Regions from separate parts of the Homo sapiens genome. Here region 2 is linked to region 1. The links are contacts of gene promoters, found by promoter capture Hi-C in human tissues and cell types (Jung and others, 2019). All regions are on one chromosome and are shown on one strand. Each heading gives the region's core, a stretch centred on a gene start or on the middle of the fragment in contact. The rest is flanking DNA. Distances are from core to core; before and after follow the strand shown. Region 1 holds the start of POLDIP2 (DNA polymerase delta interacting protein 2). Region 2 holds the start of ALDOC (aldolase, fructose-bisphosphate C).

Region 1 (6,501 bases), core at 4,002-6,501:
TTGCCGGGATGGAGTGCGGTGGCATGATCTCAGCTCACTACAACCTGTGCCTCCCGGGTTCAAGCAATTCTTCAGCCTCAGCCTCCCAAGTAGCTGAGACTACAGGTGCACGCCACCACACCCAGCTAATTTTTATATTTTTAGTAGAAACAGGGTTTCACCACATTGGCCACGATGGTCTTGATCTCTTGACCTAGTGATCTGCCCGTGTCAGCCTCCCAAAGTGCTGGAGTTATAGGCGTGAGCCACAAGCACCCGGGCCTTTTTTTTTTTTTTTCCTGAGATGGAGTCTCGCTCTGTTGCCCAGGCTGGAATGCAATGGTGCAATCTCGGCTCACTGCAACCTCCACCCTCCTGGGTTCAAGTGATTCTCCTGCCTCAGCCTCCCAGGTAGCTGGGATTACAGGCGCCCACCACCACGCCCAGCTAATTTTTGTATTTTTAGTAGAGACAGGGTTTCACCAGGTTGGCCAGGCCAGTCTTGAACTCCTGACCTCAGATGATCCACCTGCCTGGGCCTCCCAAAGTGCTGGGATTACAGGCGTGAGCCACCGTGCCCGGCCCTGGAATTATTTCTATGATATTCTTTGATGAAAAGGCCCTCCCATTCCACCTCCCCTTCTTGAGAGAGATTACCTTTTGTCTGGTCATACAGAAGAAATCTTTCAAAGAGTTCATGTTGGATGGGAACCTGATCAGTGGAGGTGTAGGGGAGGATGTCTTCATGGCTGACATAGTCCAAGCCTGGCACAGAGATGCAAAAGACAGTGGTGAAACTCACAGGAGAGGAGAGAGATGGGGTTGAGAAGAAACATTAACTGGCCTTGTTCCAGTATGGGATAACCCTGATATCATACCTCTCAGCATCATAATCCCTCCCAGTGGATGACAGGACATCAGAATCCTCTCCCTGAGACACACCAGACTCCTTCTTGACGGGCACCATTCAAATGCTAACTACTCACCTGGGATGGCATAGAGGGCCCGACTGTCATCATGGTTAGCCAAGAAGGTCACAGCTTCTGTCTGAGATCTCTGAGACTAAGGCAAGAAGTGAATCAGTGGTGAAACCATGTCTCTGCTAAAAAGTACAAAAATTAGGCTGGTGTGGTGGCAGATGCCTGTAATCCCAGCTACTCGGGTGGCTGAGGCAGGAGAATCACTTGAACCCGGGAGGCAGAGGTTGCAGTGAGCTGAGATCTCACCACTGCACTCCAGCCTGGCGACAGAGTGAGACTCCATATCAAAAAAAAAAAAAAAGACGTGAATCAGGGCTTTGTTGGCCACTGTGCAGTCCAAGGCCTTGGGGACCAAGACTGACCTGGGCTCTGTTTGACCCCCTTCCCTCCCTTTGTCCCCATTGGGATGCAGGACTTTCCATGGAGAGGACCCCCAAGCCCAGCCATCTTGCTTACTTACTATATGTGGGCAGTCACGAGCATCAATCAGCACCTGATAGTAAGTGTGAGTTTTGCCTTTCACCTCCTTGGAGCCATGGCCAGCAGGGTTCTCTGCTCTATGGGGTGGGAGAAGGAGGCCAAGATCACCCCAGGAGAAATGGAAGCTGTGGCTGACTCAGCTCCCTACTCCTCCTCACCTAAACAGGCTGGTCTCTGATCTAAAGGGGCTTTAGCACCAGCTGGACACCTGCTCTGCAGCACCTCAGCTCAGCTGCTCCTCAGTTGGGGCAAATAATAGAGCATGGAAGACCATGGTATGGAGCCATCATCTGACCGTGTGGATACCTCTTAAAAGAAGGGGGCCATGTTGAGAAAATCAAATTGCCACCTCAGTCCCCAGGGCCCAGAGTACTCTTGTCTTCTTATATCCCAGGGACTGTCTGTGATCACTTAATGGGGCTGAACCTTTTCTGTTTTAATGTATTCTAGGGATGATGTGAGATTGAGGGAAAGACTCCAGCTGAACATCAAGAAATCAAGAAGACTTGTCCCCCAAATGCCCTCTGGGATACTCATAATGAAAATTAGGAATGGCTTAGGAAAGCATTCTGAGGAGGCCTAAAGGGACTCTCTGACTTAGACTATCCCTGGCACTCAGCACTTTTGTCTCCATGGGTCTTAGTCCCAGAGAAGTACTCTGGGGATGTTTCCAAGGCCTAGGAGGACGCTGTCTTCACCCCTAGTACCCCAATTACATATGTCTGCCATCTCCTCCTGAGGATACTGTGAGGCACAACCACAGGGAAACTTACTTTTCTGGAGCTGCAGAAGCCACATCCCGGTCATACAGTCTGGCCTGCCAGGGAAACAGGACGACACCTCGGTAGCCAAAAATGCTATGAAGGAAAAGCTGGAAGGAAAGAGGGGCCTCAGTGAGTCTGCAGTCCAGCAAATCCATCCAGGTGGGCCCCAGACCACAAAGCAACACAGGTGGAGGCAACTCCAGCACAAGGTCTTGCTACCTCTTCCCTTGAAGTCTGTGATCAACCAGACCAATGCTGGAACACTCTTATTTCTTCTTTACCTGGCTGACTCTACTCATCCTTTAGGTAAAAGCTTAGGCCTCCAGGAAGCCTTCCCTGACCTCCCTTCCACTTAGCACAATGTACAGCTATTGGCCATTTGCAAATCGTTCTTTTCTAGACTAGAAACTCCACAATAGCAGGAATCATGTCTACTTTGCTTTCTGATTTAACCCTAATGCACAATGCCTAGTCCATTGTAGGCACACAGAAAAATAAAATGTTGAACAAACAAAAAGTCTTCCTTACCTACAATATCCTAGAAGGGCCTAAATCTATCCCAGTGGACCCAGAACAAAGCTGATATAGAAAAAGAACCACACATCCAGAGTTTACCACACTGAAGTCAATTTTATTACGGCAAAGCATCAAAGGTATACTTTTCTGAAAGCTCCCTCCACGGCTTCCCACCATCCACTATGTTAGAGAAATCTTCAGCAACTTGGCTAAACCTCACTATAGTCCACACCATCCCTGTCCACATTAACTTGGAAAGAGAACCCACTGACACATTAAGTGCATTCAAATCCAGGAGAACAGAAACCCTATCTATAAAAATTTGATTCTGGGCTGGGTGCGGTGGCTCACGCCAGTAATCCCAGGACTTTGGGAGGCCAAGGCAGGTGGATCACCTGAGGTCGGGAGCTCGAGACCAGCCTGACCAACATGGAGAAACCGCATCTCCACTAAAAGTACAAAATTAGCCAAGTGTGGTGGCGCATGCTTGTAATCCCAGCTACTAGGGAGGCTGAGGTAGGAGAACTGCTTAAACCCAGGAGGTGGAGCTTGCAGTGAGCCGAGACCATGCCATTGCACTCCAGCCTGGGCAACAAGACTGAAACTCCGTCTCACAAAAAATAAATAAATAAAATAAATAAATAAAATAAAAAATGAATACAAATTTGATTCTGGAATGGCACCAAACATCAAGGTGGAATGAATGGAACACCATACCATGCAGGCCTGTGACCTAATCTGACTTTTTTCAGAAGCAGAGCACTCTATGAAAATGAAAGATGACCCAGCCCAATACTCACCTGCCCGGTCTCATATTTTCCATTCTGTTTTGGCACCTCAAACACACCAACTGTCTCCAACACTTTGCCCTCTGGTCGGTTTCTGAGTAGGAAGGAAAAGAACAAGCAACAGAAAAGCTGAGAAGGTAATGGTAGTTATCCATAAGAAAAAGCTCCTAGGATACTGAGGGGCCAGGGCGATGACAGCAGAGAAGGGTTTGGGGTAGTGGGACCAGCTGGAGCAGGAAAGGCTTTCCTCCTCCTTGGTGAAAACCTCCACAGTCTCCCAGTGTTAGATGTGACCGCTCCCATACTACTGTCTTCTCTCTTCACTGGGCATTCTTCATATCATGCCCTCACACTCTGCTCAAATGTACCCCTGCCCTTGTTTCTTCCCTAACCCACCCTCCTGACCTCCCACAGCACTTTAACTGTCTTGCTCACTTTTTCAATTTTTTTAGAAGGGGAGTATCTTTTTTTCTTCTTTTCTTACATTTTCTATATCACAAGTCATCAAACAATATCCTGCTCCCTTTACATTTCAGTTGTGTCCATGTCTTATCTTTATTAAATACTGTAAATTCCCTGGGAGCAATGCCTGAGTCTGATTAGCTGGTACTGCCCCCTCAGAGCCTAGTGTACAAGAGGTGCTCAAAAAATATTTGTCCTGTATTATAATTCCATGTCCATCTCCCCCTCTAACCTGTAGCCCTTACATTGCCCTTGAAAAGCTTAAACATCTCTAGATTTCCTACGGCACATCGCTCTCTCAATACCGTTTTTGTTCATATTCTCACAGGGGTCTTAAATTGCAAATAGCTATCATCTCTCCCCAATGTTCAGTGTCTAATATCAGCCACTAAAATGTCAGTCACCACTCTGAACAGGGCTGCTCTTTCTAGGGGCCCTTCAAATAAAGGCTGTTTTTACTGTTTTGAAGATGTGAACTTTATGCTTCCTCCCACTGATCCACCAGCCCATTTGATCCGCCTGTCCCATCCGTGGAAACAGTTTCCACACCATCCCCATGGCCTCAAACCCCCTTCCCCAAGTCACAGATAGAAAATCGATCTCCCCAAAGTCACTTGGAAACCTGGGGCCTACGAGGGTCCACACCCAAGAGTCTCGTTTCCCACCTCTAGCATCTTTCTGAGGCAGACCTTCACCAAATCCAAAGGCTGAGGGTTCAAGCCAATGCCCTAGGGCTGAATTAAAAAGCTTCCCTCTGACATCGGTGCTGGGGACCCCAGCCGGGGAAGTAGGATTCACTTGGGGAGGGTAACCTGTTCCCCCCCAGGGCCAGCCCTGTACAACCAGGGCTCTGGGCCGCGCTGGCTTCCCTGCTCCTGGCACATGTCCCAGACAGCGCAGGTCGGCTCCCTGCTCGGGACCCTCTCCCGGGTCAAACTCCAGTCACCCTCAGCAGGCCCGGGCCCCTGGCCTCCGCACTGGCTAGGAACACGCTCTCTGGGCTCCAGGCCCAGTTCCTCGCGCCCCCTGGCTCCGTCCCTCACCGGGACGAGAGGTGCCTCCGCGTCGTCGTGGTCGACGCTGGCGAGAAGGCTCCAGCTCCGGCCGCCGCACAGAGCGGCCTTGGCCACCGGGCCCCAGTCAGCGACCGGGACCACCAGCGGCTGCCCACGGCCAGGGCCCGCCGGGCTGTACAGGCTGCCATGTCCCGCCCGAGCGCCCGCCCGGCTGCTGACACAGAGCCCGACCCGCGGCCGGGCGGCGTTCCGCCCCAGTCCCACACTGCCCCGCGCGGCGTCCCGGCCCTCTTGGCCCGCCTGGTCCCACCCCGGAGCTCAGAGCAACTTCCGGTGCGCTTAGCGTTACTTCCGGCGCGCGGCGGGCGGAAGTCCGGGTTGGGGTCACCTGACCGGAGAGCCGGCTAGATATGGCGTCCTCTTTGCTTGCGGGCGAGCGATTGGTGCGTGCTTTGGGCCCCGGCGGGGAGCTGGAGCCAGAGCGGCTACCCCGAAAGCTGCGGGCCGAGCTTGAGGCCGCGCTGGGGAAGAAGCACAAGGGCGGTGATAGCTCCAGTGGCCCCCAACGCTTGGTTTCTTTCCGTCTCATCCGGGATCTGCACCAGCATCTGAGAGAAAGGGGTGAGCCCCAGTCTCCAGTCCGGGGTCCCCTCCTTGTGTCCAGATCGATTCCCTCCTGAGGTCTTTTCCCATCATTCCCCTTCTTCTACGGAGCACTCATCTAGACAAGTCAAGAGTCACTCCATAAATCCCAGGGCCACCCACTTTCTTAACTCCCATGGGAATTTCTCGTGGATGACAAATTTGCTTGTGCAGTTTCTGCTCTTTTGAGAGCCCCCTCTTCACTTCCAGGCACACCTAGGCCCAATTCACCCTTGAGAAAGTCTAGGTTTTTACCAAATACAAATATCACAGGTTTTGTCTCTTCTTTTTCTCCACTTTAGGAATCAGCTTAGCATAGTGAGCTTGTAGGAATCCGGATTTCTTTCCACCTCAAAAGCAAGAGTGGTGAAATCTGATACTTTGTTTTGTTTGTTTGTTTTTTTAATATAGGATGGCAAAAGCTGTGTTGAAAGATCTGGCCTGAGAGTAGCATGTGAGTTCCAGTCCTAGCTCTGTCACTAATCCTTTGAAGGAGTCATTTCTCCTCGCTGGGCCTCAGTTCCCTTATGTGTAAAGGGAAGGAACAGGACAAACTAGCACATAAGGTATTTTGCCAGAAGTAACATAGACCAGCCAGAAGTGCAAAGGGTAGACTGCTCAATTATTAGAACTAGAAAGGACCTTAGAAAGAGATTGCCTAGTATTAGTGTCCTCTGAGCATTTAGCATCACTATGACCTAAACTTATTTAGGGAAGAGCTGTTGTGGCCACAGAACTGATCTAACCCAAAGGCACAAGTAAATGGCTTACTTGTTAGTTATAACACTGGCAGGATAATTGAGAGCTGACAGCTAAAGTCACCTGCGCAGCACTGGGAGATACCTACATGGAATTATCCAAAATTCTTTTCAAT
Region 2 (7,228 bases), core at 1,107-3,606, 220 kb after region 1:
AGCTTCGTGAGCCTCACCCAATCGGAATCTCTGCAACGAGGGGGCAGGACCGCGGCGGTGATCGGGGCCAATCGCGAGCGCTACTCCAGACCCGCAGACGGGAGCAAGCGGGCGAGGGGTGGGAGGGCTCCGCTGGGAGCTTCGCTGGGGATCTGAAAGGAAGTCACCCGGGCGCGGAGGGACAGCCTAGGGGCCGTGCGGGTTTCGGCGCTGCTGGAACGAAGTTCCCCGCTTCCCTGTAGAACACACTTCTAGCCCCGCAATCAAGAGCGCAACCTCTGCAGTCCTTAAATACTAGCTGGGCAACTACAGGCAGCTCCGAGGCTCATCTGAAAATGGAGATATTTACATAAATGAGGCCGTTCTTGTAAGGAGCCTGGCACACGGAAAGCCCTCAACGTCAACTGTCACGGTCTTATTATCCTTATCGTAGAACTCCTCTTAGGGTGCCCTCTCCTCAAAGCCTCAAACACGGAGGTAGCAAGCTAGTATGTTTTAGCACAATTGGCTCTCTCGCTATTTTAAAATACGTTTTAATTCATTTCCAACTTGGAAAACTCAGAATACTTCACTTAAAAATCTTGAAAAGTCATGAGCCCAGACTCTAGATGCTGATCACTGCGGTTCAAATCCTGGCTTCATCACTTATTAGGTGAGTGATCGTGAGAAGATCGTTCTGTGCCTATCTGTGCCTGTTTTCTCTATTAAAATAGGGATGATAGTAATAGTACCTACTTTATAGAGTTGTATGAAATGTGTCAGTACATATAAAGTGATTAGAACAGGGTTGGTGCTATGTGCAAGCTATTTTTGTTATTATAAAGTCAGGCCACACAGGGTGGAGCATTTGTAGCCTCCCCAGTTGACACAGAACACACGCAGCTTGTTATCTCTTCTTTTTATCTGCTTAGACCCAGGTTCTCAGCCTACCTCACAACCCAGCCCAGTGGTTAAAGTTCAGCATCAGGCCTCACCAGAGCTGTCCTTACCCAGACCCTCCAATTGGCTCCCTTTGTGCCCACTTCTACCCCAAATGAAAATGGGCCATAGCCCTTGGCAACCTCCTAGATGCCCTGCTCAGCCCTGGCAGCCCGCAGAGCCTTGGTTTTCCTCTTTGGGCGGGAGTCCAGGTGCTCGCTTGCCCTTACTGGTGTGGCTCACCCTAGTGGAAGGTACCAGGTCCCAGCTGGGCTTAACACTGCGAGATGGGAGAGACTCCCACCCACTCTTATCCCAGCCTGTCTTGCTGCCTCCCTGCTTTGAGCCTTGCACAAATCTGCCTTCAGGAGTTGCCAGTTTGGCCTCACTCCATACTTCTGTAGCTGCAGCCCAGTGCCACTGATGTGGCAGTCCCTAGAAGACTTGCAGTCTTCCTCATTGCCCCACTCCAGACTTGGACATCAAGAGAGCAAGAGCCTGAGCTGGGGATGGTGACTGCATGTGCCCTTCCTCCATAACTTGAAGCCCAGTAAGACTCAAATCCCACCCTCTCCACCTCCAGAGTCAGAGGGCCCAGAGATAGAATTAGCAGAGATCAGAAACTGGGAGGTGGGAATTTGATGTGTAAAACAGACAGGCAAAGTAGAATGTTTTGCTACCATTTATTTGCTGTATGGTATGTACTCAAGGCATGAGTCAGGGCTTCTGTACTACCCTCTGATCCCAGGAGACAGGGCAGGCAAGAAGGAGAGCCCAGGGAGAAGCTACCTCATCATGGGAAAATTGTGGGAGCTGGAAGAGGTAGGGGGAGACCCAGCCATCCTGTTCTGACTTCTAGCAATTTCTTCTGCCCTCAGTCATGAGGGGCTCCCTATCCTCCCATCCTATGGTCCCAGGTGCAGCAATGAGAGAGGGGAAGGGAAGAGAGAAAGGAAGACAAGTTGGTGCCAGGTGAAGGCATCTCTGCTCTGCATAGCTATTTGGCCCTGGCCATGACTACAAGCAAAAGTGGGTGCAGATGGCTGGGCCAAGGGCTGTGGTATGGAGTGGATACTCAGTAGGCATGGTTGGCAATGTAGAGTGACTGTGCTGCTGCTCCACCATCTTCTCCACTGCCTTCATACTTGCCCTGGGCTGCAAGCCCATTCACCTGCAAAAGGGAGCGTGGAGTAAGCAGGCTGAGCCAGCCCACAGGTGCCAAGCCCTGCCCAGGCTATAGCCTCTGGGTGCTGCCCCCACCCACCACCACCTGTAGCTCCCAACCTCAGCCCGCTTGATGAACTCCTCAGTGGCAGCCCCAGCATTGTCCCGTTGCCCTCGCCAGGCATTGAGTGCAGAGGCTTGCAGGGCACGCCCATAGGAGAAGGTAAGCGCCCAGGGTCGGGGAAGGGGGCAGCGGTTGATGGCATTGAGGTTGAATGATGCCTCTTCTTCGCTCTGACCCCCAGACAGGAAGGTCACTCCTAGTGTGGAGGAGAGAAGACAAACTGACTGGTCACTCCCAATTTTTCCAGGATAGGGAACCCCTGAAGGCCACAAGAAGGACCTGAAGATGGGCCTTAGGGATAGGAGCAGGTTAGGGAGCTGGGTAGTACCTGGGACAGCTGGGGGCACAGTGCGACGCAGGGCAGTGACAGTTGCCATGGCAATCTCCTCTGGGGTATACTTGATGGGACAGGCATGGCCCGGGGTCACCATGTTGGGCTTGAGCAGGGTCCCCTCCAGGTATACATGATGGTCACTCAGGGCCTTGTACACAGCAGCCAAGACCTGGGTGGGGATTAGAGGAGGTTTACTAAGGGTCTGGGCCCCCACTGGTTACTGCTCGATGCTCCCTATGTAGGGGTAGATGGGCACAGACTGTGAGGGCTCAGTACAGGCTCAGATCACAGGCCTGTGCCGGGATGAAGTGAAAAAGTGCTAGGGGAAAGTGTGCCTGGATCTAAGCTGGGGGTTCTGGGGAACAGACACTCCTGCCGAGCTGTCCCTGCAGTATGTTTGTGTGCCCAGGTGTGGACTCACCTTCTCTGTAACATACTGACAACGTTTGAGGTCGTGGTCTCCATCAGGCAATATTTCAGGTTCCACAATAGGCACAATGCCATTCTGCAGGCAAGAGCAGAGATGCTTGGGAGGGGCAGTAGGGGAGATGAAGAAAGCCTTGTGACTCTCTCCCCACCAGGCATACAGGGCACCTAGCTCACCACCCTCCCAACACACACACCTGCTGGCAGATACTGGCATAACGGGCCAGCACGTTGGCGTTCTCCAGAATGGCAAGTGCAGAGGGTGTACGCTCACTGATTTTCAGCACACAGCGCCACTTGGCAAAGTCAGCACCATCCTTCTTGTATTGGGCACAGCGTTCTGAGAGCCCATCCAGCCCTGCAAGCACAGTGCCAACCTCATTACTCTGCCCCTCTTTTACCAGCATCAACTATCTAACACCTCTTTGGTCCTCAAGCCCACCCATCCTATACCTTGAGTGGTGGTTTCTCCATCAGTCCCAGCTAGAGGCACCACACCCTTGTCAACCTGTAGAGGAAGTACAAGCAGAGGGTTGAATCCAGGCAGGATTCTCCTTGCTACCCCTCCTACACAAGCTTATTTTCACACCCAGCTTCCATTCAGAGCAGGGCCAGGGGCTGCACCTTGATGCCCACGACGATGCCCTTATCCTGGATGGTTCGGACGAAGGGAACACCATTATCATCTTTCTGGTAGAGGGTCTCATGGAAGAAAATGACGCCTCCAATGCACTTTTTCACACGGTCATCAGCACTGAACAGGACCTGGCGGTACAGCCGGCGGTTCTCCTCTGTGTTTTCCACCCCAATTTGGCTCAGCCGCTTGGCCATGCTGCCTAGGGGCAAACAAAGAGAGGCAGTGAGAACATCCCCAGGGTCCCCTAGCCACCTGTACCCTACCTGGCTACAGATGTCCACTTACCTACAGACTCATCCGCAGCCAGAATGCCTTTGCCCGGGGCTACAATCCGCAGGGCAATGTCAGACAACTCCTTCTTCTGCTCAGCAGAAAGGGCTGGGTACGAGTGAGGCATGGTGACAGCTCCCTGGAGTGGAGACAAGATAAAAAAGCCAGACCTCACCCTCTGCTGCCTCTCCTGGCCAGATGGGCCAAATGGCCTCCCCATCAAGCAAGGGGCTGGGAACAGGGCAGCAGTCCTTGGCATGAGTCCTGGGCATCAAGTGGCACCAGTCCTTCTGACAGCTAGCAAGCTTAGGGCTCCAGTTCCCACATCTCCTTTTGTCCCTGGTAGGCATCCTTCCCAGCCCTGGGGAAAGATGCAGGGTGGGGGTGGGGAGGTGAGCAGCCCTGAAGCCACAGCTCTTCTGATAAATCTGCTGCCCAATCAAGGATGCCAACCCTTCTTTCACTGAACTTGGTCCCTTGTTGAGGTAGGCAAAAGTCCTGGCCTTTCCAGCTTCCCTTTTCTCATCCTCCACAGGACCCCTAGGGAAAGTGTACTTACTTCCAAGGCTTCAGAATGAGGCAAAAGTACTTATTGCCACCCTCTTCTCTCAGCTTCTAGAGGAAAAGGTTGGAAGAACAGGTAGGGAGTAGGAGTGGCACAAATACCAGTCACAGGCTCCTGCAGCTTCTCCTTTTCTGTACTCCAAACCTGCCTGCCTATGCCTATTGCCTATTCCCACCCAGTACCAGAGGTTGGCCCCAGTGGGGCTGCAGTGATGTAGGAAAGAGGGCCCAGCGGGTCAGCTGTGTTAGTGTGTGGAGACTAGGGCTAGTGACACCTCCGGGTCATCTCTGTGCCCAGGAAGCACTTCACCTGTTTGGCAGGAGGATAGCAATAGGAAGCACTTCAATTCCCCACAACTCAGACACCCAGACGGGAGGGCAGAGGACCAAGGCTGAAAGGAGTAGAGAGCCTGAGAGAGAGATGAGACTGAGGGGAGCTAGTGGTGATGCAGGCTAACCAGTCAGCGGGAGAGACCTAGACCGGGGGGCAGAGAAGGCGGGAGAACTGGAGAGAGGACCTAGCCTAGGAGGAGAGGGAGCAGGCTGAGAAGGAAATGCTCTGGGTAGGAGAGACAGACTCCAAGGAAAAATCCAACAAGTAGAGGAGGATTTGGGATTGGAAAAGCTGAGGTCCAGCTGGGAGAGCTGAAGAGGGATAGAACAGAAGAGGTTGAGCCATGGGGTTTCAAGTACGCGGAAAGGAGCAAAGATGTTAGGAAAGGGTCGAAAGGGCACATCCCGGAGTCCCAGGTAGCAGGACGAGGATGGCAGGGGAAGAGCCAAGGAAATGAAGCGGAGATGTTGAGTGGCTCCCGCCTTGCCTGGCCTTACCTGTGCGCAGCCAGTTAGCAGCCGCAGCCACAAGCACAGCTCGGGTTCTGATCCGCAAACAGATGAGGCTGCAGCCCTGGCTCCCTCTGGTAAATGAGGCTGCGGATGTCGCAGAGCTACGTGACTCCTCCGGGGGCGTGGCCTGCATGCCCCGCCCTGACCACACCCCCTCCCCAGGACTGGTGTCCGGGGCAAGACCACGCCCTCAGAGGCGGGGCGGCGAGGTGGAGTGAGCGCCCCGCCAGGCATCCGTGGCTGTTAGGGACTGCCCTCCCACCTCGGGGAGCCTGGCCATGACCTTGCGTTCATTTCTGCCACAATCCCTTTACCACGTGCCGGGCACTTGCTGGATGCTGGGGATTAAGCTTAGTCTGGTGAAGAGGAGGCACCAGAACAGTAACAACAGGTTGAGTAGGTGGGGCAGAAGCATCTTCAAGGTGCCCAAGTTCAGGGCAGGAAGTAATGAACTGAGCTTCTCTGTCCTCACCCCCATATTTGCCAGGGTATACCCCCGAGGGGGCTGGGGAAAGTAAGAGAATGAAGCCTTTCTGTTTCCTCCAGGCGGTGAGCCAGGGAACAAGCAGTCCAGTGCCCAGAGTTTTGGTGAAAGCAGAGGAAGGGAGGAAGGGCAGGCAGCCTTGGCTTTGGATGCAGCAGGAGGTGGAGAGGGATCTATGGAGGGTGCCCAGGCAGGAGGCCCAAGCTGCTTCTTCCCTGACTTCATCATCCGCCCCCTCTCACCCAAAAAGTAAGATTCCGTAAGCTTGGAGAAATTCATTAAATACACTTTATTTAAATAGCATTTATCTCAGTTGGCTCTATGCCAGTTGGTCTTGGTATTGGGGTAAGGGGGTATTGCAGGTAAAAAGAGGTGAAGCAGATTCTGGCTTTCAGTTTCTTAGCTCAGAAATTCCAGCAATCCCTGTAGTTCTTTGCATCCCCTCACCACCTCTGGAATAGAGAGCAGGGTCTGGGAAGAGAGGCAGAAAACGCAGCTCAGGACCACAGACTTAAGGCCCAGGGCTCCCAGCCCCAGGAGGCAGCCGCTGAATTAGAGGGGAGAAAACAGACACCACAGAGAAGCCTGCAATAGTGATTCAGGCCCAGCTCTCAGCACAGGCTGGGAACCAGATCTGTGCTCATTAGTACCTCCTGGGGCCAGGCCTTGTACCAGGTTCATTAGTGATATCACCTCCCTCCTGCCTATACCTTATAAATATGCTGAACAATGTCATCTAGTTTTTCTAACTCCTTGTCAGAGCGCCGAAGGTTCTCCTCTAGGATATTTCTCTAGAAAGCAAACAGATTTTATAAGTCCTATGCATAAAAGAGCAAACTTGGTAGGACAGGGGAAACATGGCGGGGCATTTGTTAACGATGGTAGGAAATGGCCCTGGAATGGCATGGACATTCTTACATGGCTCTGGAACTTGATCATGAGTTTTTCCTTCTCATTTTTCATCTCCAGGAACATCACTCTCAGTTTGTCCACCTAGAAATATGTCCAGATCAACAGGGGTACAGCCTGGGGTCCCCACCTGCTGTCCAGCTCCTCTGTTAACTCTGAGTCACCTCCTGAGAGAGCCACACTTTCTCCTGGATCCAATTGGTGGCCATAGGCTGGCAGTTGGAGTCCAGCTGGCCTGCCAGGGCCTCCTGGAGCACTTTGGTCTCTGTCTCCGCACGCCGAAGTGAGCGGGTAAGGTGGGTCACCTCCTCTCTAAGGCTCTGGGAATGAGAATGGAGAGGTGTCCAATAGGACATAAGGATAGACAACATGTGGTGAACAAAAGCAAACCATTTCTCATACTTGGGATCCTGGCTGACCAGTAACACAGAAGGCAAAGGCCTGGGCATGATGGTGAACATACTATGAGCTCGCCACTCTTGTCTATCTGTTCTAGGATCTTCTCATTCTGCTGCTGTATCACTTCCTGGAGCTCCTTTTCATTCTGTGAGG

The links. Contacts are between HindIII fragments. The study calls those that stand out against the background at their distance.
Region 2: a contact is called between a fragment that was not itself captured here and the fragment with the promoter of POLDIP2 in region 1, in 1 of the 25 tissues and cell types used here (dorsolateral prefrontal cortex).

What each region holds. Positions count from the first base shown.
Region 1 is chr17:28,352,276-28,358,776 of GRCh38, forward strand. It overlaps POLDIP2 (DNA polymerase delta interacting protein 2), which reads right to left and starts at 5,252. Exons shown (of 11, transcript NM_015584.5): 1 at 5,013-5,252; 2 at 3,520-3,601; 3 at 2,213-2,310; 4 at 1,420-1,516; 5 at 966-1,041; 6 at 637-744. The coding sequence starts at 5,173. VMA12 (vacuolar ATPase assembly factor VMA12) reads left to right here and starts at 5,372. Exons shown (of 6, transcript NM_152464.3): 1 at 5,372-5,606. The coding sequence starts at 5,396. RefSeq lists enhancers at 4,652-5,417, 5,530-5,629 and a silencer at 4,950-5,339. The HindIII fragment of the contact is 19,434 bases long and covers 4,473-6,501 here.
Region 2 is chr17:28,571,533-28,578,760 of GRCh38, forward strand. It overlaps ALDOC (aldolase, fructose-bisphosphate C), which reads right to left and starts at 5,363. Exons shown (of 9, transcript NM_005165.3): 1 at 5,269-5,363; 2 at 3,889-4,012; 3 at 3,591-3,802; 4 at 3,420-3,474; 5 at 3,164-3,324; 6 at 2,962-3,045; 7 at 2,535-2,709; 8 at 2,203-2,402; 9 at 1,588-2,089. The coding sequence starts at 4,000. The coding sequence ends at 1,994. SPAG5 (sperm associated antigen 5) reads right to left here. Exons shown (of 24, transcript NM_006461.4): 20 at 7,140-7,220; 21 at 6,841-6,996; 22 at 6,686-6,760; 23 at 6,478-6,558; 24 at 6,042-6,238. The coding sequence ends at 6,167. RefSeq lists enhancers at 323-372, 5,586-5,765 and a silencer at 5,296-5,535. The HindIII fragment of the contact is 3,007 bases long and covers 854-3,860 here.